6 separate regions of the Homo sapiens genome follow, and regions 1, 2, 3, 4 and 5 are each linked to region 6. Evidence: promoter capture Hi-C in human tissues and cell types (Jung and others, 2019). All regions are on one chromosome and are shown on one strand. Each heading gives the region's core, a stretch centred on a gene start or on the middle of the fragment in contact. The rest is flanking DNA. Distances are from core to core; before and after follow the strand shown. Region 1 overlaps LINC02107 (long intergenic non-protein coding RNA 2107). Region 2 overlaps LINC02107 (long intergenic non-protein coding RNA 2107). Region 3 overlaps EGFLAM (EGF like, fibronectin type III and laminin G domains). Region 4 overlaps WDR70 (WD repeat domain 70). Region 5 holds the start of LINC02119 (long intergenic non-protein coding RNA 2119). Region 6 holds the start of GDNF (glial cell derived neurotrophic factor).

The links. Contacts are between HindIII fragments. The study calls those that stand out against the background at their distance.
Region 1: a fragment that was not itself captured here is called in contact with the fragment with the promoter of GDNF in region 6 in 1 of the 25 tissues and cell types used here (heart left ventricle).
Region 2: a fragment that was not itself captured here is called in contact with the fragment with the promoter of GDNF in region 6 in 1 of the 25 tissues and cell types used here (adrenal gland).
Region 3: a contact is called between a fragment that was not itself captured here and the fragment with the promoter of GDNF in region 6, in 1 of the 25 tissues and cell types used here (H1 embryonic stem cells).
Region 4: a fragment that was not itself captured here is called in contact with the fragment with the promoter of GDNF in region 6 in 1 of the 25 tissues and cell types used here (mesenchymal stem cells).
Region 5: a contact is called between a fragment that was not itself captured here and the fragment with the promoter of GDNF in region 6, in 1 of the 25 tissues and cell types used here (hippocampus).

What each region holds. Positions count from the first base shown.
Region 1 is chr5:38,129,685-38,132,774 of GRCh38, reverse strand. The region is part of intron 2 of LINC02107 (long intergenic non-protein coding RNA 2107); the gene reads right to left. Among named protein-coding and RNA genes, the nearest start is that of LINC02119, 17 kb to the left of the region's middle. The HindIII fragment of the contact is 8,812 bases long and covers 1-3,090 here.
Region 2 is chr5:38,094,427-38,097,581 of GRCh38, reverse strand. All of the region lies in intron 2 of LINC02107 (long intergenic non-protein coding RNA 2107), which reads right to left. Among named protein-coding and RNA genes, the nearest start is that of LINC02119, 52 kb to the left of the region's middle. The HindIII fragment of the contact is 3,100 bases long and covers 1-2,929 here.
Region 3 is chr5:38,272,222-38,275,157 of GRCh38, reverse strand. The region is part of intron 1 of EGFLAM (EGF like, fibronectin type III and laminin G domains); the gene reads right to left. Among named protein-coding and RNA genes, the nearest start is that of EGFLAM, 15 kb to the right of the region's middle. The HindIII fragment of the contact is 4,073 bases long and covers 1-2,936 here.
Region 4 is chr5:37,561,225-37,564,235 of GRCh38, reverse strand. All of the region lies in intron 9 of WDR70 (WD repeat domain 70), which reads right to left. Among named protein-coding and RNA genes, the nearest start is that of WDR70, 180 kb to the right of the region's middle. RefSeq lists a silencer at 1,114-1,292 and an enhancer at 1,100-1,807. The HindIII fragment of the contact is 4,709 bases long and covers 1-3,011 here.
Region 5 is chr5:38,146,937-38,150,129 of GRCh38, reverse strand. The region is part of intron 2 of LINC02107 (long intergenic non-protein coding RNA 2107); the gene reads right to left. It overlaps LINC02119 (long intergenic non-protein coding RNA 2119), which reads right to left and starts at 1,650. Exons shown (of 2, transcript NR_134272.1): 1 at 1,529-1,650. RefSeq lists a silencer at 1,769-2,063. The HindIII fragment of the contact is 7,248 bases long and covers 1-3,193 here.
Region 6 is chr5:37,838,384-37,841,437 of GRCh38, reverse strand. It overlaps GDNF (glial cell derived neurotrophic factor), which reads left to right and starts at 1,397. Exons shown (of 3, transcript NM_000514.4): 1 at 1,397-1,931. GDNF-AS1 (GDNF antisense RNA 1) reads right to left here and starts at 1,554. Exons shown (of 4, transcript NR_145476.1): 1 at 1,400-1,554. RefSeq lists an enhancer at 1,536-2,473. The HindIII fragment of the contact is 15,271 bases long and covers 1-3,054 here.

The sequences.
Region 1 (3,090 bases), core at 477-2,976, 290 kb before region 6:
TAATATTTTAATATTTCTCTTTGTCATCAAATATTCTTTAACTGCCTCATTTTTAGGGGTCAGAGAGTGGTCATATGTACATACATACAAATATGGAGAGAGAATGTATTTTTTGCAGTGCATTTAACATACATACATGTGTAATTTATATTAATATTCTCATATATACACATATATGTATATACACAGACGAAAATATATTTACAGTAGATTGTATGAATTTGGTCGTTACTCACAAATACACCATTGTCTATGTCTGGCCACACTAGTCAATGTTTGCTCACTTTGCAGCATTTAAAAGTGAGGAGTTGACTTCACATGTACTCCTGAACCTAAAATAAAAGTTAAAAAAAGGAGGAGTTGAACTGATTTTTTTTTAAATCACAAACCAAAAAAAAAAAAAAAAAAAGAAATCAGGGCACCTCTGTCCTCTGAAACAATTGGCACATTTTGTCCAATAATTAGTTCACTGAGTGCAATCCTGTTGGGTCTAAGCAGTAAATGGCATTTCTTGATTTTCACAGGTGATGATTCATTTGGAATCAACAAATGTTCATGGAGCGGATAACCAGTGATATTCCTGCTCTTCAAATGGGAGCATTTCCTCATTCCGTCACGCAGGCGGGGGTGGCCAAGAGCCTCCAGATTAAAAAGAATAATACTAATAACACACCAAAATGTTTCAATGCATGAAGGGGTGTTTCAGAAGTGGCTTTTCATTTCAACATTCTTTCAACAGTTCCGTCAACTTCTTATAAAATTGAGAGTAAATACTTTTTAAAGGGGTGTGTGTGTGTGTGTGCTGGTATTTTGGTGTGATTTGTATTGTGTTATTGAAATATGCTACCCTGGAAAATGCTCAGCTATAAATGCCATTCCTTATAAACATGAGCTGGGCTGCTGATGCATGGCTTTGCAGTTCTCTTTGAACTGCAGTTTTGCTGCTCTCTACGGCCTTCTTGCCACAGAGCAAATGTCTGGGAATAAGAAATGGAGAGGCAAAGGTCATGAAGTGATAGTGGAAAGAATCGGCATCTCTCCCGGTAGGCAGGACTGGCTGACATGGATCTACACTTCCCTTGTGCCAGGGCTTGTGCTCGGTGCTGTCATGCAGCTTCTCTCATTAACCCCCAGCAGCTCTTTCAAGTATGACTAGCCCAGTTATTAGAAGGAAATGGAGAATCAGACCACTCAAGTGTCTTGTCTAAAGTCACATCACTATTAGATCCCAAAACTTAAATGGGATCAGATCTTCTCATTCTGCAGGCAACATTGCTTTTCCAACTAATCTGTCCCGCCTCCTTGGAGGGACGGGAATAAGGACCTGCCCTGTCCTATTTCTATGGAGTATTCTGAGGGCGGTTCTGGCACATGGCAGTACCTGGTAGCTTTCAGAATGACTTTTCAGTCTCCACACTTGACAGCATTAGCTAGTGACTGGCTCATGTGTATTCCTTTAAAGATCATAACCTTGGTTAGACAACCCCAGAGGAACAAGCCAGCATTTTCCTAGTGATCTTAACAGTGGCCTAAACTTTTGGATCTTCTCTAAGAGTCGAAGAAAGAAAAAGTGTGTTTGTATGTGTGTGCGTGCACTCATGTGTTTGTGTGTGTACAACAGACATGAAGCAGTCGGGAGTAGGAGCTGGGACACAGGAGGAACAAGCACCTCTGGAACTTCACTCAGTAACATAAGAAAGCTGAAGTGGGCCCACCCGGTGCCGTGGACCCTGCCTGACTTCCTTCCATGGCTCCGTTGCCATGTGCATATCCACATTCATCCCACACCTTTCATTCCACACATATGCACCAATGCAAAAATCTCATGATTTTCTGCAGGGCTATCATGGCTACTCTAAGGGGTCTAAAATGCTTTCTGGGTCAGATTATTTCTAGAGAACAAACTCCTGCTTCCATCAGGCCAGGAGAGGCTGCTAGGTCAGGCAGTGTCTGAGCACAACTCCTCAAGGGAAGGGATTGCTCTCTGATCACCCTCCCTCCACTACAATACACACACACCCAAATACACAATAGGGTTTCCCCCTTGCAGCCAGGTATATCGTTTACTCAAAGAGGAAACCATTAGGAACTTATGAGACAAGCTGGGCCAAGGAAATGCTCATGTCACATGGTCCCACTGCAGTGCTAGTGAGGAAAAGACCTGGAAAATGCACCAAACGCCTGTCACGGACGAACAGCCATGAACTGTGAGGGGAGCTTATACCCCTTCAATGACTGTGGGCCTCTACACTCATCCCACCTGACTCTGACCCTCAGAGCTCAGAAATGCTTGTTAAACAACTAAGTGCTCTGACTTATGCGACAGCATCACCTGGGAACTTGTTAGAAATGCAGAACCTCACACCCCACCCCAGATCACTGCATCTGCACTTGAACAAATCCCAGGTGGGCCATGTGAACACAGATGCTCAGCTCTAAACTCCAGAGGAGGTGCTGTCAACCCTGGTTGTCCAGCAGAATCACCTGGAGAGATTCGTAACTGGCCCACCCTTAGTCTGTGATTGAATTTATCAGGGGTGTGGCCCAGGCAGGGGCATGTTTTAACCCACCCCCACCCATCTAGGGTTGTCAAACATAGCAAATGAAAATACAGAATGCCCAGCTAAATGTGATTTTCAGATAAAATTTTTTTTTAGTGTACATATAAATACTGTGCATATTATATACAATATTTGGGACACACATTAAGAAGTTACTTGTGTTTATCTGAAATGTTAGTTTAACTGAGCACTCTATTTAATTTGGCAACCCAGTCCCCAGGTGATCCTAATGTACATCCAGGGTTAAGAACCTCTCTTCTAAATCAAGCCTGTTGTTATGCAAATATTTGTCCTGAAATTTCCCAAATGATCCTGATGTTAACTATTGTCTCTCAAGATGGTCGGGGATCATACTTTGGAAGGAAGGCCTTTCTCATAATGGTCTTGAGCAACTACAGGGCCCATGCAAGTCTACTAATGGCAAGTGGATGGAGAAATTGAGTTGCCAGGTGACCCATACATATATGTCCGGTATTTAATAATTTTGTCCTGTGTCGTGTATTCACTTTGTTGGGACTCCCTAAATGTC
Region 2 (3,155 bases), core at 130-2,629, 260 kb before region 6:
TTGGGACAGAGCATAGGTGCGAGACAGGCCTTTTGACTTCTCAGCTAGCAGACTGCCTCTGCTCACGAAAAAGAAACAATACGAAAACATTAATCATGCAAGACAAAAGGCATTATAACGTGTAATAGTCCATGTAAGTGTTTAAACTGAGAAAATAATTTTGATGCCTGAGTAGGCAATAATGCCACTTAACTAATTAAAATAACTAATACTGGCCTGCAAGTATGGTGCTGATTGTGGCATTTCAATCAAATTTACAATAAAGTTAACTTGACAAATTTAGTGATTATATGTGTTTTTATATGTAATATATGTGATATATTACATAGCATCAAATTAAGTGATTATATACAAATATATAATTGTATACAGAATAAATCAATCTGGTGACTATATGATATGAAACTTGTATCTATGTATATTATATATACACACATCTTATTGAGCAGCACAAAAATTAGACAAAAAAAGTTAGTAGTATAATTCCAGCATTTTTGGGAAGCTAAGGCAGGAGTATCACTTGAGCCTAGGAGATCAGCCTGGGCCACATAGTGAGACCCCGTTTCTACAATTTTAAAAATTAGCTGGGCATGGTGGCACATGCCTATAGTCATAGCTATTTGGGAGGCTGAAGCAGGAGGATTGCTTGAGCCCAGGAGTTCAAGCCTGCAGTGAGCTATGATTATGCCACTGCACTCCAACCTGGGCAACAGAGTGAGACCCTATCTCAATAATTAAGTAAATAAAATTAAATAAAATAATACAATTAAATAGTGGGTCACTTGCATGACTTTAATTGACATTATACAGTCAAACCAAATATGTAGTTTTTCTCCTCTTTGTTAGTCTTCTAGCATCTGTTTTTGGCATCAGCGGCATCAGTTTACTCCAGTATTCTGCTCCCTTTATCTTGAGCTCTCACACTAATTGCCCCTTATTGATTGTAATGGCTGCACTATTGTACTACCTTCTGCCTCACCCCAGCACACACATGCATGCACACACGCACACACTCGCCACATGATTCCATGCTGCTGTGCCTTTGCTCTTGCTAGTTCTAGTTAGAATACCCTTCCTACCTCTGTTTGCCTGAGTACACGTGACTTCTCCTGTAAGATGCAAGCTTTATCTCTGAGGGCTTTCCCTGAACTCCTAGTTTGAATAGTGCCCTTCCCTTTTATCTTTCCAAGTCCTGTGCACCCCTCTATCCTAACCTTCAGCACATTTCATTCACGTTACCAGTTTACATCCTCTGTCTAGTGAAGCAGAATGCAGTTGGTTAAGGATTTTCACTAGTCCTTAGTGACAAACAGTTGGTGGTCAGATCATGAGAATATAGGCTATCACTAGTTGTGGTAACTCAGATAAGCAGCATCTCTTTAGAGGACTAAGCTTGGCTAATTGATTCATGTTTTTAAGAACTCTATTCAGCAATCCTCTTCTTTGTCTTGTCTCCATCTTTGTAAGATTTCTACTCCTTGTTTTCACTTTTTCTTCCATTTTCATCATAAATGATGCCACCTCTCCTTGCCCTTGGTAGGATACTCAGCCCCATAGTCTGATAATCTATAACAACAGTAAAAATCTTCTCTTTAAAATTTGCAATCAGTTAAGATGTCTTTAATAGCTATTTGGTGAATAAAATCTGTTTTTACTCATGAAGAAATTGAAAGTCATGTACTTGACTTGTCATGCGCAATTAATATTTTCTTTGAAAACACTCAATACAGTATTTGCGATGCATTTAATTACCTAAACTACGTGTAGAGGTTCAGGTTGTATCTCATTTGAGACAATAATTTCAATAAGTACTTTTTGAAAAAGAACGAATAAAGCAGAAATTGTTAAACGTTTGGTAAACATCTTCAAAGATTCATCATGGTCTTTTCTCTCTCTGTCCCCGAATAAACTTTCACAAACATGTTATACATCATGGACACTTTTCAAATGAATATATATATTTAAACAACTTTTTCTCTTCTACCACTCTGGCTCTGTGGTTGACATCCCTGCCAAGACTGCTAAGCAGTATAAAGGTAACTTGCCACTGTCTCCAGAGCCCAAAGACACATCCCCACCACTGCGCACACTGGTGTCTGCTGAGTTAGGCTGCCTCCACCACCTCCCTATGCACCACGGCCTCTGCTGGAGCTGCTCCCACCACAGGTGCTGCTACCACTCCCACTGGATACTTCTATTTCCACTGACGCTGATGTGCTGAGGTTTAGGAGGTGGCAGGGTTTCTGCTGTGGTGAGGTGGAAACATTGCCTTCCCACACAATATGGCTTTGCCCCTGTGTCTCCCGGAGTTTTGACACCCAGTGTCTTCTCTTCCTAGGACTTAGACATGATTTCACGGAGCAACTGGCAGATAGCTGCCACTGCTTAAAGAACCAGGCTTCTCCAAGGCCAAGGTTGTGCTATTCTCCCCTTAGACTAAATTATTTCTTAGAAAGTATCCCCATCCCCCATGCATGTGGGCTCCTGCAAGTGCGCTGCTGGAGGCACTGTTCAAAGTATTTGATTCAGGAATTTACCTTAGGCTCAGCCTGGGACAAGAAAGTTTACCCACATTTTTGCCCAATTCAGGTGCAAAATGAATGTGAACATTCAGTCAAGCATTGCAAACACAGTCTTAAATCTATCATGTCACAAGCAGAGTCTCAGAATACATATTTGACTTCTGTTATGACCCCTTTTAAAAGGATAGTTTTTGGCAAAATGATTTTTTAAAACCCCATAAAATTACAGTATTTTTTAAACATGGGACATGTGGCTCTGGAGGAAAAACAGAAAAAGCTGTCATGGAAAATCTGAACATGCACAAGATCCAACCCAGATGATTTCAACTATTAAGGGAATTACTTAATGTTCATTCGCATGTCCTTGTTGTTACCCTCTATTCAACTTTGATGTAGCTATACCAGTTTGGTGCCTGTGATTATAGATGAAGCACTACTGGAAAATTGGGAGTTTGGAAAAGAGTAACGGTGGTGACTGAATGAATGGCAACAAAAACTATATAAGGAAACATTTATGGAGATAAATGTCTATGTTTACATGAAATGCATTTAACATAAACTCACATCTGAAATGTGTATATGGAATAGCTACTGATAAGCAAACATTTCACTTCTACATATGATATCTATTAT
Region 3 (2,936 bases), core at 67-2,566, 430 kb before region 6:
ATTTCTTTCTGGTTAAGTAGTTTTCCCTGGTAGTATTTTTGATTCCTTTCCTTTTGTTTTTAGTGTGTATATTATAGGTTTTGCTCTGTGGTTACCACGAGTCTTACAGAAAACATCTTATAGTTATAACAGATTATTTTAAGCTAATAACAACTTAACTTTGATTGGAAAAAAAAATCTCTACACTTTAACTTCACTACCCCTCCACATTTTGAATGTTTGATGTCACAATTTACATTTTTATGTTTCATATCCCTTAACAAATGATTGTAGTTATCATTAAACAGTTGGTCTTTTAACCTTAATACTAAGGATGTAAGTGATTTATACACCACCTTACAGTATTAGAGTGTTCTGAATTTGACTGTGTACTTACTTTTACCATTCAGTTTTATACTTTCAGATTTTTTTTATTACTCATTGGCACCCTTTTCTTTCAGCCTGAGGAACTCCCTTTAGCATTTCTTGTAAGACAGGTCTGGTGGTGATAAATTTCCTCAGCTTTTGTTTGTCTGGGAAAGTCTTTATCTATCCTTCATTTCTGAAGGACAGCTTTTCTGGGTACAGTATTCTTGGTTGGCAGTTTTTTCTCCTTCAAAACTGAGTATATCATCCCACCCTCTCTTGGCCTGTAAGTGTTTTCCTGAGAAGTCTGCTGTTAGGCATATTGGAAATCCCTTATATGTTATTTGCTCCTTTTCTCTTGCTGCTTTCAGGATCCTCTCTTTGTCTTTGATCTTTGACAGTTCGATTATAATATGTCCTGAGACAGCCTTATTTGGATTTAATCTGATTAGAGACCTTTGGCATTCCTATAATTTGATATTTATATCTTTCTCCTGGTTTGAAAAGTTTTCTGCTATGATTTCTTTAAATAAGCTTTCTACCCCTTTGTTTTTCATCTACTCCCTCTTGAATGCCAATGACTCAAACATTTGCTGTTTCGACGCTATCCCATAAATACTGTAAGCTTTCTTCATTCTTTTTTCATTTTTTCTTTTTAATCCTCGCTGTATATTTTCAAATATCTTCAGGTTCACAGATTGTTTCTTCTGTTTAATAAACTTTGCTGTTGATATATTTTTCATTTTGTTCATTGTATTTTTCAGTTATAATATTTGATTTTTTAATATTTCTCTGTTAAATTTATCATTCTGGTCACTTATTCTTTTCTTCATTTCATTTAACTGTTTCTACGCATTTTATTGAAGTTCATTGAACTTCCTTAAAACAGCTACTTTGAATTTTTTGTCAGGAAGTTCATAGCGCTCCATCTCTTCAGGGCTAGTCACTGGCACCTTATTTTGTTCATCTGATGATGTCATGTTTCCCAAATTGTTCTTGATCATTTTGGTCATGTGTCAATGTCTGCACATTGATGAAGCAGATACTTATTCCAGTGTTCACAGTCTAGCTCTGTCTAGGAATGTCCTTCAATAGTAAGCCTATCTAGAGATTTTGGGCAGGTTGTCAGGGTGTGGTCCCCAAGACTGCAATTACTGCACACATTGCAGTGCGTGGGGGCCCTCTAAGCCCAGGTCTGTCACAGCCAGCACAGTGCCAAACTGAAGTCCCATGGCTGCTAAAGCTGTCACAGCACGGGCTAGAATCTCACGGCTGCTAAGGCTGCTGCAGTGCTGATGTGTAATCAAAGCCCATGGCCACTGAAGCTAGTACAGCACTGGGGCATGCCCAAAAGTCACACCTTCTGAGGCCTTCCTGTCACTAGGGATTATGTGGAGTCCAAAGCCTCTGTAGTTGGCCAGCAGTGATGCAGGCCAGAACTTGAGTCCATCTTGCAGGGGCTATGTGTTCCCATCTGGTGTAGGGATAGGTCTAGGGGCTATGTCTGTGGGTATCAGCCTGTCATCGGGCTGTGTAGGACTTCCCAGTGCTGGGTTTTACTGTGGTGAGCCCAGAATTAGAGTGCAAAGCAAACTCCTTTGCTTATTTCTCTTTCTTTCCCTCAAGTGTATGGTGTGTCTCTCCATGCTGTGCTGCCTATTGCTGGGGAAGGGGTGACATGGGTAATGTATAACTATCCTTCCTACCTTCTTCAATGTGTCTTTTCTTATTGTTATGCTATAACTAGATACAGTGGTCTCTAACCTGGTTTCTCTAGCTCTTGTGAAGTATTTTCATGCATGGATAGTTATTCAAATAGATGTTTATGCAGGGGAATGATTGCTGGAGAGTCCTATTCCACCATCTTATACCATCCTCCTCTTCTAAATCTTATTTTTTTAAATGTGTTTCAAAGTAAATTTCAGACATTGGTACATGTATCACTAATACTTCACCACTTCAAAACAATTTAGTTCATTTTTAACTGCTATTATAATGCAGGTTACTTTTAGGTTACACACAGACACAGACACAGACACACACACACACACACATACACACACCTCTCAAAAAGTCAACTGATGAATGTTTCAGTCAACTGGTTGCTTTCAATAGGACTTACCAGGAGTATTCATTTTTATCAGGCATGTTGGTTCTTAAAAAACAAAGAATGAAAAATCCTTTGCAAACACTCTAGCTTTTGGCTGCTTTGCTTTCAAGGGAATACAGAATTGATCTTCATAAGCAAGCCAGGGTCAGTACAATAAAATTGAAGAAGAATGTTGAAGAATTGGAGTACTGTTTTACTTATGATCTCACAGTTAGTTCTCATTATGGCAGACTGGTCTAGCTTTATCCTTTTCCCGCAACTTGACCTTTTCAATCATACCTCCGATGCCATTCCCACACAAGCCTCTCTTTCCTTTGGTTTTAAAGACAAATGGGGGAAGGAGGATTGTTGGACACTGGACTATTTTAACCCCTCCCCACCTACTACTTTTCAGTGTATGAGTAAATGGTATTGCCTTTGCTTCTTAGCCTCCAAAGACATTATAAAGCAAGTCTGAGGCAGCCCCATGCATTACTTCAAG
Region 4 (3,011 bases), core at 503-3,002, 280 kb after region 6:
GGTGCCCAGGCTGGAGTGCAGTGGCGTGATCTCGGCTCGCTACAACCTCCACCTCCCAGCTGCCTGCCTTGGCCCCGCAAAGTGCCGAGATTGCAGCCTCTGCCCAGCCGCCACCCCGTCTGGGAAGTGAGGAGCGTCTCTGCCTGGCCGCCCATCGTCTGGGATGTGAGGAGCTTCTCTGCCTGGCTGCCCAGTCTGGAAAGTGAGGAGCGTCTCTGCCCGGCCGCCATCCCATCTAGGAAGTGAGGAGCGTCTCTGCCAGGCCGCCCATCGTCTGAGATGTGGGGAGCGCCTCTGCCCTGCCGCCCCGTCTGGGATGTGAGGAGCGTCTCTGCCCGGCCGCCCCGTCTGAGAAGTGAGGAGACCCTCTGCCTGGCAACCGCCCCATCTGAGAAGTGAGGAGCCCCTCCGCCCGGCAGCCACACCGTCTGAGAAGTGAGGAGCCCCTCCGCCCGGCAGCCACTCCGTCTGGGACGTGAGGAGCATCTCCGCCCGGCAGCCACCCCGTCTGGGAGGGAGGTGGGGGTCAGCCCCCCGCCCGGCCAGCCGCCCCGTCCGGGAGGGAGGTGGGGGGGGGTCAGCCCCCCGCCCGGCCAGCCGCCCCATCCGGGGGGAGGTGGGGGGGGTCATCCCCCCGCCCGGCCAGCCGCCCGTCCGGGAGGGAGGTGGGGGGGGGTCAGCCCCCCGCCCGGCCAGCCGCCCCATCCGGGAGGTGAGGGGCGCCTCTGCCCGGCCGCCCCTACTGGGAAGTGAGGAGCCCCTCTGCCCGGCCAGCCGCCCCGTCCGGGAAGGATGTGGGGGGGTCAGCCCCCCGCCCGGCCAGCCGCCCAATCCTGGAGGTGAGGGGCGCCTCTGCCCGGCCGCCCCTACTGGGAAGAGAGGAGCCCCTCTGCACGGCCAGCCGCCCCGTCCAGGAGGGAGGTGGGGGGCCAGCCCCCCGCCCGGCCAGCCGCCCCATCCGGAAAGTGAGGGGCGCCTCTGCCTGGCCGCCCCTACTGGGAAGTGAGGAGCCCCTCTGCCCGGCCAGCCGCCCCGTCCAGGAGGGAGGTGGGGGGGTCAGCCCCCCGCCCAGCCAGCCCCCCCATCCGGGAGGGAGGCCGGGAGGTCAGCCCCCCGCCCAGCCAGCCGCCCCGTCCGGGAGGGAGGCGGGGGGGGTCAGCCCCCCGCCCGGCCAGCCGCCCCGTCCGGGAGGTGAGGGGCGCCTCTGCCCGGCCGCCCCTACTGGGAAGTGAGGAGCCCCTCTGCCCGGCCACCACCCCGTCTGGGAGGTGTACTCAACAGCTCATTGAGAACGGGCCATGATGACAACGGCAGTTTTGTGGAATAGAAAGGGGGGAAAGGTGGGGAAAAGATTGAGAAATCGAATGGTTGCCATGTCTGTGTAGAAAGAGGTAGACATGGGAGACTTTTCATTTTGTTCTGTACTAAGAAAAATTCTTCTGCCTTGGGATCCTGTTGATCTGTGACCTTACCCCCAACCCTGTGCTCTCTGAAACATGTGCGGTGTCCACTCAGGGTTGAATGGATTAAGGGTGGTGCAAGATGTGCTTTGTTAAACAGATGCTTGAAGGCAGCATGCTCGTTAAGAGTCATCACCACTCCCTAATCTCAAGTACCCAGGGACACAAACACTGCGGAAGGCCGGAAGGCCGCAGGGTCCTCTGCCTAGGAAAACCAGAGACCTTTGTTCACTTATCTGCTGACCTTCCCTCCACTATTGTCCTGTGACCCTGCCAAATCCCCCTCTGGGAGAAACACCCAAGAATGATCAATTAAAAAAAAAAAAAAAGAGAATTAAGCCTCAAAGCCATTAATTAACTTGCAGGATCTAAGTTTTCTGATTTTTCTAGGATGTCATTTTACTTTTTTTTTTCTTTTGAGACACACAGTCTCACTCTGTCAGCCAGGCTGGAGCACAATGGTGTTATCTTGGCTCACAGCAACCTCTGCCTCCCGGTTCAAGCAATTTTTGCGCCTTAGCCTCCCAAGTAGCTGGGATTACAGGCATGTGCCACCACACCCAGCTAATTTTTATATTTTAATAGAGACGGGGTTTCACCATGTTGACCAGGCTGGTCTCGAACACCTGGCCTCAAGTGATCCACCTGCCTTGGCCTCCCAAAGTGCTGAGATAACAGGCATGAGCCACCGCGCCCAGCCTAGTATGTCATTTTAAAAAACAAAGAAAAATTTTCACTTAATGACATAAAATTTTAACATGCATTTGGTGTCACCTCCTCATATGTAGACCCCAGGACCATGAGACAGCATCATGGAATACCTCAAATGCCTCTTTTTTCCTTGCCACTATTTCCTTCAACCTTAATTCTCTAAATCCACAAGTTCTTTCTTCCTTTTCCACAATAACACATGAAACAATATTTACATAAATAGCAAAACTGCTTACAATTTCAGATGCTATCTTTATGTTAAATCAACAGAGAACCTTTCTAATTTACTACTAAAAAGCAGTAAGTCACAATATGAACTATAATAAAAGGGATTCTACCCACCAGAGGATTAAGCTTTGCCAATACAATGAGACCTATTTTATAAAAATAACCCTCATAACGACATGGCCTGTTGCTGAGACCCTCCTACACCAGATCCTGTCCTTGTTGGGGATAAAACAAGCTTTAGCACCATGCCAACAAAGCAGCTGCCACAAATGAATTCTTCCTGATTCTAGAGAACTATCACTCCATTTCCCCACCAAGGTGGCTAACCTTATTTGTTGTTAGCATGTGTTTTGGCTATATAGCTTAACTAAATATTTTATGCAATTTAAATTAAACAGCTGTTTTAGCATAGTGTATACCATCTCTGTGATATCGATGAGGAAGACTTTATTTCTAAAAGAATTCAAAAATATGGATTTATAGACTGACCAAAATAATCTTATCCCTCGGTTTTCTATATTAGTTAGATCGGTCCATTTTTCTAGCACTTTGAGAGAGAGGATAGAGGATACCAAGAAGTACAAATTGTCCCGTCTTCGTGGCACTTAAAGT
Region 5 (3,193 bases), core at 123-2,622, 310 kb before region 6:
AACCCTTGCTTCAACTCTTGCTTCCTCACTGTGCTCAATAAATATGTATTCACAATGATGTTATGCCACATGTCTAATCTTGAAGTTGACTTATGGTCCACCCAGAGGGAGGAAATATGTGAAAGGATTATTAAGGGATAAGAGAAGGAGCTAACAACAGAAGACATTGTGGAAAGTTATCTATTCATTCATCAAGCATGTGTTTAGGACCTACTACATGAGAAATTGGGTTAGATCCAGGAGATCTGAAGGAGGCACAGTCCTTGCTTTTATGGAACTCCTAGATTGATACTTAGAACATTTCATTCAATTGGGAGAAAATAGTGGAGGTGATTTTGCTTTTCATTGAGGTAAACCCTACCAAAAACATTTCATTATTATTAGCTCTTCTTCCATTCATATTTTGTGCATCTGACTTTCTTTCTTTCTTTCTTTTTTGAGATGGAGTCTCGCTTCTTCGCCCAGGCTGGAATGCTATGGCCCAATCTCGGCTCACTGCAACCTCCCCCTCCCAGGTTCAAGCAATTCTCCTGCCTCAGTCTCCCAAGTAGCTGGGATTACAGGCATGTGCCAGCACTCCTGGCTAATTTTTGTATTTTTAGTAGAGACGGGGTTTCACCATGTTGGCCAGACTGGTCTCAAACTCCTGACCTCAAGTGATCTGCCTGCCTCAGCCTCCCAAAGAGCTGAGATTACAGGTGCGAGCCACCGCACCCAGCTGACTTTCCTTCTTTCTAATATTCTAAAGAGTACTGGACTCTGATCCAGCATCCCCGGTTTCTAGTTTCAGTTCAGCTGCAAACTGTGTGATCTTAGGCAACAAGGCCAACCCCCAATGCTTAGTTACCACATCTCTTCAAAGAGTACCGAACACTTGTTCCTCATGCCTCAAGCAATTTTTATCAGGACGTAAAGGTATTCAGGACAACAAAAAAAGTGTATAAGAACTATATTATATAAGATGATTTTATTAACTAGTCAACAATGATGTCATTCACCCATCTGAAGTTGCCTCTTCTCCCTCAAAGGGAAAAATATGAATGTTTAAGTTTTTTTATACAGTAATTTATTTTGCAAGTTGCATTTTTCCTTTAGTATACTGGTTTATTTTCTGCATTTTGAAGAACAATTAATCTAGTTGCTCATCAAATTACTGTACAACTTTATATATTATATTATTTCATTTCCTTATTCCAACTCAGAAAGTATGGAGATCTATTTCTATGGAATGAGGAAGGAGGATATGCTAAGTTTATTTAATAAAGACTCATGAAAATTTATCCAAAAAAATTTCCCTTCTAGGTCACAAAAATATGATCTCCTGCAAATAGCTGAATCTAAAAGACCCATCAGATGATCAGAGAGTCACTGAAAATGCTTACTAAACCAACCCTTACTCTAGAAATCAGGAAAAGAAAGAAAACTTGAAGAAGCTCAGATTTGACAATTCTGACATTTGGAAAATCAAGTCAGCAAAGAAAGCTGCTGTCAAAGAATGTGAGCAAGGCCATTTACAATGTAACCATACCTACTCATTCAGCTCTGTATCCATTCACTCTCTCCTTCAACATTCATTGAGCATCAAGCATGTGAAAGTGCTGCACTTGGTACTGAGCAGAACACCAGGCTCTCACTGAATGCTCTCATCACTGGTGGAACGGTCTATTAGCAAAATCGCAGAGCAGTGGAAAATATTAAAGCAAGATAACACCGAATTGAACAAAGCCACCTTTGAAACGCAACCTTTTAATATCAGGTTGAACAGCTCTTCCTATTTGCCCATCTGCTAACCTTTAAAAGATTCCTCTCATTGCTGATACGGCCAGTTGCCCCAGCCTGCCTTCAATAGTGCACAAAGGGCATCTTTGTTTTCCTCCCAGTGAACTCAGAGGCCAACCCAGGGAACAGTGAAATATCCAGGATGGAAATGAGGTGTCTCCGTGACAGCGGACTCCTTCTTTTGCCCCCATTTATCGAGATCAACATGACTGAGTCACCAGTAGATGAAACCAATGATTGTTTTACTCGGACTTCCCCAGAGTCACCCCCTGAGTCAGTGGGTAAACTGGGGTAAGAACCCAGCCTTGTCCTATGAGGCTGAGCGGGTCTACTATATTTATCCAGGGTCTCATGATTCTTAGTGCTTTTGCTCTGCCCTCTAATTTGCACTGTGCCTGCTATAATATCTAAACGGGAAGTTGCCAGCTAGAATGGTCATTATCCGAGAAATCTATTTAAACATGTTTATAAGGTCAAATGAAGTGGGTGGTGGATAAGCTAGACAGAAAACAAAAGCTTTGGCTCAGCATAGCCAGTGAGGCTAAAGCTAAAGAGAGAAGTGTTTTCATGTTGAATTTGCACATGGTAGAAAAAGGCAGTCTAAGCATAATTATATATAAATGCAGGAATGAGCAGTCAAAATATTAAAACGACCAAATGATTTCTATTTAAGAAGCTGGACAATGGAATTGACTTATGGTAAGTCAAGGGACTGTCTGTTTGAGGCAGCATGCCGGTATAGCAGAGCCCAAGATCAAATTTTGGAAAAGCTCCTAGTGTATCCCAACCAGTGGGAAGAGCTGGGATGATCAAGAAAGATGCCCAGAATCAACCAAAAATGACCTGGGGGAGACTTCACAATGGAATAGTGAATACTATTGAACAAGAGGGAAATAAGGAGGTGAGAAAAACACCTAATATCTCTGGGAGCCCAAGCTGGGATTCTTGTATATTTAAGACTTTGAAGAACAGCTCTCTGTACCAAAGAAATCCACATCTTAGAGTTAGGAGTCAACCATTTCATTATGTGACTGACCTCCAGGCTCTGCCAAGCCATTCTTCAACATCAAAGAGGAGGGAAGAGGGGAAAAGAAACTATTGTCATACGTCACTTAATGGTAGGGATACATTCCTTCTGAAATGCATCATTTGGCGACTTTGTCCTTGTGTGAACATCATAGTGTACTTACACAAACCTAGATGGTATAGCCTACTATACACCTAGGATATAAGGTATAGCCTATTGCTCCTACCCTACAAACCTGTACAGCATGTTACTGTACTCAATATTGTAGGCAATTATAACACAATGGTAAGCATTTTTGAATCTAAACATAGAAAAGATACAGTAAAAATACAGTATAAAACATTAAAACGGGTACCCTTGTATAGGGCACTTACCGTGATTGGAGCT
Region 6 (3,054 bases), core at 148-2,647:
GAACACATACTCCCCAACAACCGGATGAGTCATAAAATAAGAGGTACATGGACGTAAACTGAGCCTGTTTACACTTTCCCTGGCCCCAGCTAATAAAATAAAAGAGGTCCCACTGAATTCAGGTCCAATGGCTTCCGGAAAACAGGTTTCTGCTTAGCAAAGACATGCCCTATTTAGTACATTATTTTAGAGGTACAGCCAATTCCATGCCCCATGTGAATGAAATGTATTTATGGTTATAGCCATGCACAGGGTGTGTAAGGACTTGCCCTCCTCCTGTCCTCTACAAAAGAAGGCTCAGGCAGCTTCTGGTGGTGAACTAACCAACAAAAGGAATGCCCAGAAGGTCTCACCTCTCCCATCCACAGAGCTCTGGAATGGGGGCCGGGCCCCTGATCGCTGGAAACTCAGCATCCAAGTGGGCGCTTGCTGAAGTTTCCCATCTGCATTTTCGAAAATCTGGATAAAAGCAGGTTTAGCTCAACCTCCCCTAACCCGTTCCTGATAAAGTGATCTTACGCCTCTGGAATTGGGATTTTGAATGTATGTGCCTGCCCCATGTCTGGTATTAGATTACAACAGCATGAAAATGGAGCCTAGGACTGAGGAGCCGGCCAGCCTCAGAAGCCTTCTTCATTGCCTGCCATGTAATACATGATATGCAAAGCCTCTGACTTCAGCCAGCAGATATTTGGAGACCGTGTTGGCCTTAGCATGGGGACTAAACTAATGTGTGTTTAGGTCAGAAAGCGAATCAGAAAAGCCACTGGAGGGCACGTCACGGAGTGAGAGCCCTATAAATTCATCCCCACTCGCAGCGTCCCCTGGCAAATACTCGGCTTCCCTCACCCGGCCGCTCCGCACCTCTCCTTCTCGGTGCTAGAACTCCGGCCGGCAGCTCCTTTTCTCGCCACTGCCTCCTGCCCTGCGGAGAAGCGAGAGGGCGAGACACCCGAGCGGGAAGGCCGGCCTTCGACAGGCGCGAGGAAAGCCCGGCGCTGCCCTGCACCGGCAGAGCGCCACCCTCCCAGTGCGGCGCGCGGGGGCAAAGCCCGGCGCGGGCGCCGCGGTCAAGTTCGGATTGCCCCTTTCGGCTGGCCCGCGCAGAGCGCCGCACATTCCTCTCGATTTTTGATCCACCCGGAGAGGAGAAGGCGCTAGCCCCGCGGCGTCTCCGCGCTCTCAGCGCTCTCCCTGCAGCCCAGGGAGGGGCGCCTCGCGTCGCCCACTCGCACCCCGGCCCCCCGCCTCGGGAACTCCAGGGCCTCCTCGCTGCTCTCCTCTCCTCCCCCACCGCCAGGCCCAGCCGACGCCTCCCGACCCCTCCCTCCCGGGGCCCCGCGCCTCCCCTCCCCCACCCCGGACCCCGGACCCCCAGCCCGGGCTCTAGAAGACCAGCCTGCGCTCCTGGCGCCCTCATGTCTTCACGGGACTCCCCGCGCCGGTTGACGTGGTGTCTCGTTCGGATCTCCAGGCAAGACCTCAGCTCCGGCAGCAGCATCAGACAAACCAGTCTCGTGCTCCCAGGCAGTGCGCCCAGAGGAGGCGCAGAGCGCGGCAGCTGCCGCTGAGCCGCCCGCAGCGCCCCGGGCCCGCGCAGCCCCAGCCAAGAGCGCGACGCGCGCAGCCCTGTCAGCCCCCCACCCAAAGCAGCGGCGGCTGCTCGGACCTCGGCTTCTGGGGGTGCGGGGGCCCGGCGGGAGAGTTGCCGGCAGCCCTCGCCCTGTTGGCGGCGGCGGCGGCGGGAGTCTTGGCCGCCGCCTCCAGCGCGCCCTTGCTGCCCCGCGCGACCCCAGGATTGCGAACTCTTGCCCCTGACCTGTTGGGCGGGGCTCCGCGCTCCAGCCATCAGCCCGGATGGGTCTCCTGGCTGGGACTTGGGGCACCTGGAGTTAATGTCCAACCTAGGGTCTGCGGAGACCCGATCCGAGGTAAGTGAGGGAGCGGGCCGGGGAGCAGGGAGCGGGTGGTGCCTGCGTCGCGGGTGGGTGCGGCCGGCTGAAGGGCGCCCTAGTCAGAGGGGTGCGTCTGGACCCCAGAGCAAACGGTGAGAGTAGAAAGTGGAAAGACTAGAGGGAACCTAAGCTATGCGAGGAGAGAGAAAAGTAGAACCGGAGAGAGGCCGGCCTTTCGGAGGGGCATGTTGCCTTTTCCACGTGGGCAAAGATCTGTGGAGCCCCAGATGCGCCTGGACCCGGAATGCCCAAGAGGGGCAGTTTCCTTCCCCGACTCGGCCAGGTGCTCTTCCGTCAAGTCACAGAACGATTCAGGGCTTGGGTCATCTTCGAACCCACCGCCGTCGAAATGTGTCCTCTCTGGACGTGCAGAGATACTATCATTGCCAAGAGTGCAACTTACTATTGAGCTTGTTTTGATCTGTGCCAAGGAAAAGCGCAGGCCGGGGGAGGGGCTGCTGCAAAGGTGCTGAGAACCTAAAAATGGAGGGCTCACCTCCTCCGGGCGAGGTCTGGCAAAGCTACATTCCTCACCCGGTTGCCTGCACGTTCCTAACGCCCTCCACCCCAACTAACCATCCCCGTCGAGGTTAGGAGAGGGGCTTTCTTGCCAGTCCTGGATTCAAATCTCTGTCTCGAACGTATTCTTGAGACTCCACTAGGCCATTGAGGTTATTATTTTAATGACCCCTTTTTCTCCTGTACTCTGTGCCGCCTTCCAAAAACACCCCACCACCACTGCCACTACTTTACACCACCTCGAGGCTAATTCCGCACTGGTGGTTTGTTTCCTGCCCCAACGAAGAAAAACGAACCCTCTTCGGGCTGGAAACGGACTTTCGCGGGTTCCCGCCAGCTTCCTGGGGCCCAGCTAGTTTCGGCTTTGGTAGAATCCGCCGCCAGGACCCATGTGCGCGCCCCCGGGGGGCTTACCCATCCCAGAGCTCGCGACCCTTCTGCTCATAGGCGGGGACAAAGGCAACTCTTCCGGCCCCTGCTGCGGAGATGTTAGAACGCGCTCGACTCTTGCTCAGTGTTTGGAATATATGCTTAGGTATTTCAAGGAAGAGATGTTTCTTCCAACCTCATTCACGCACCC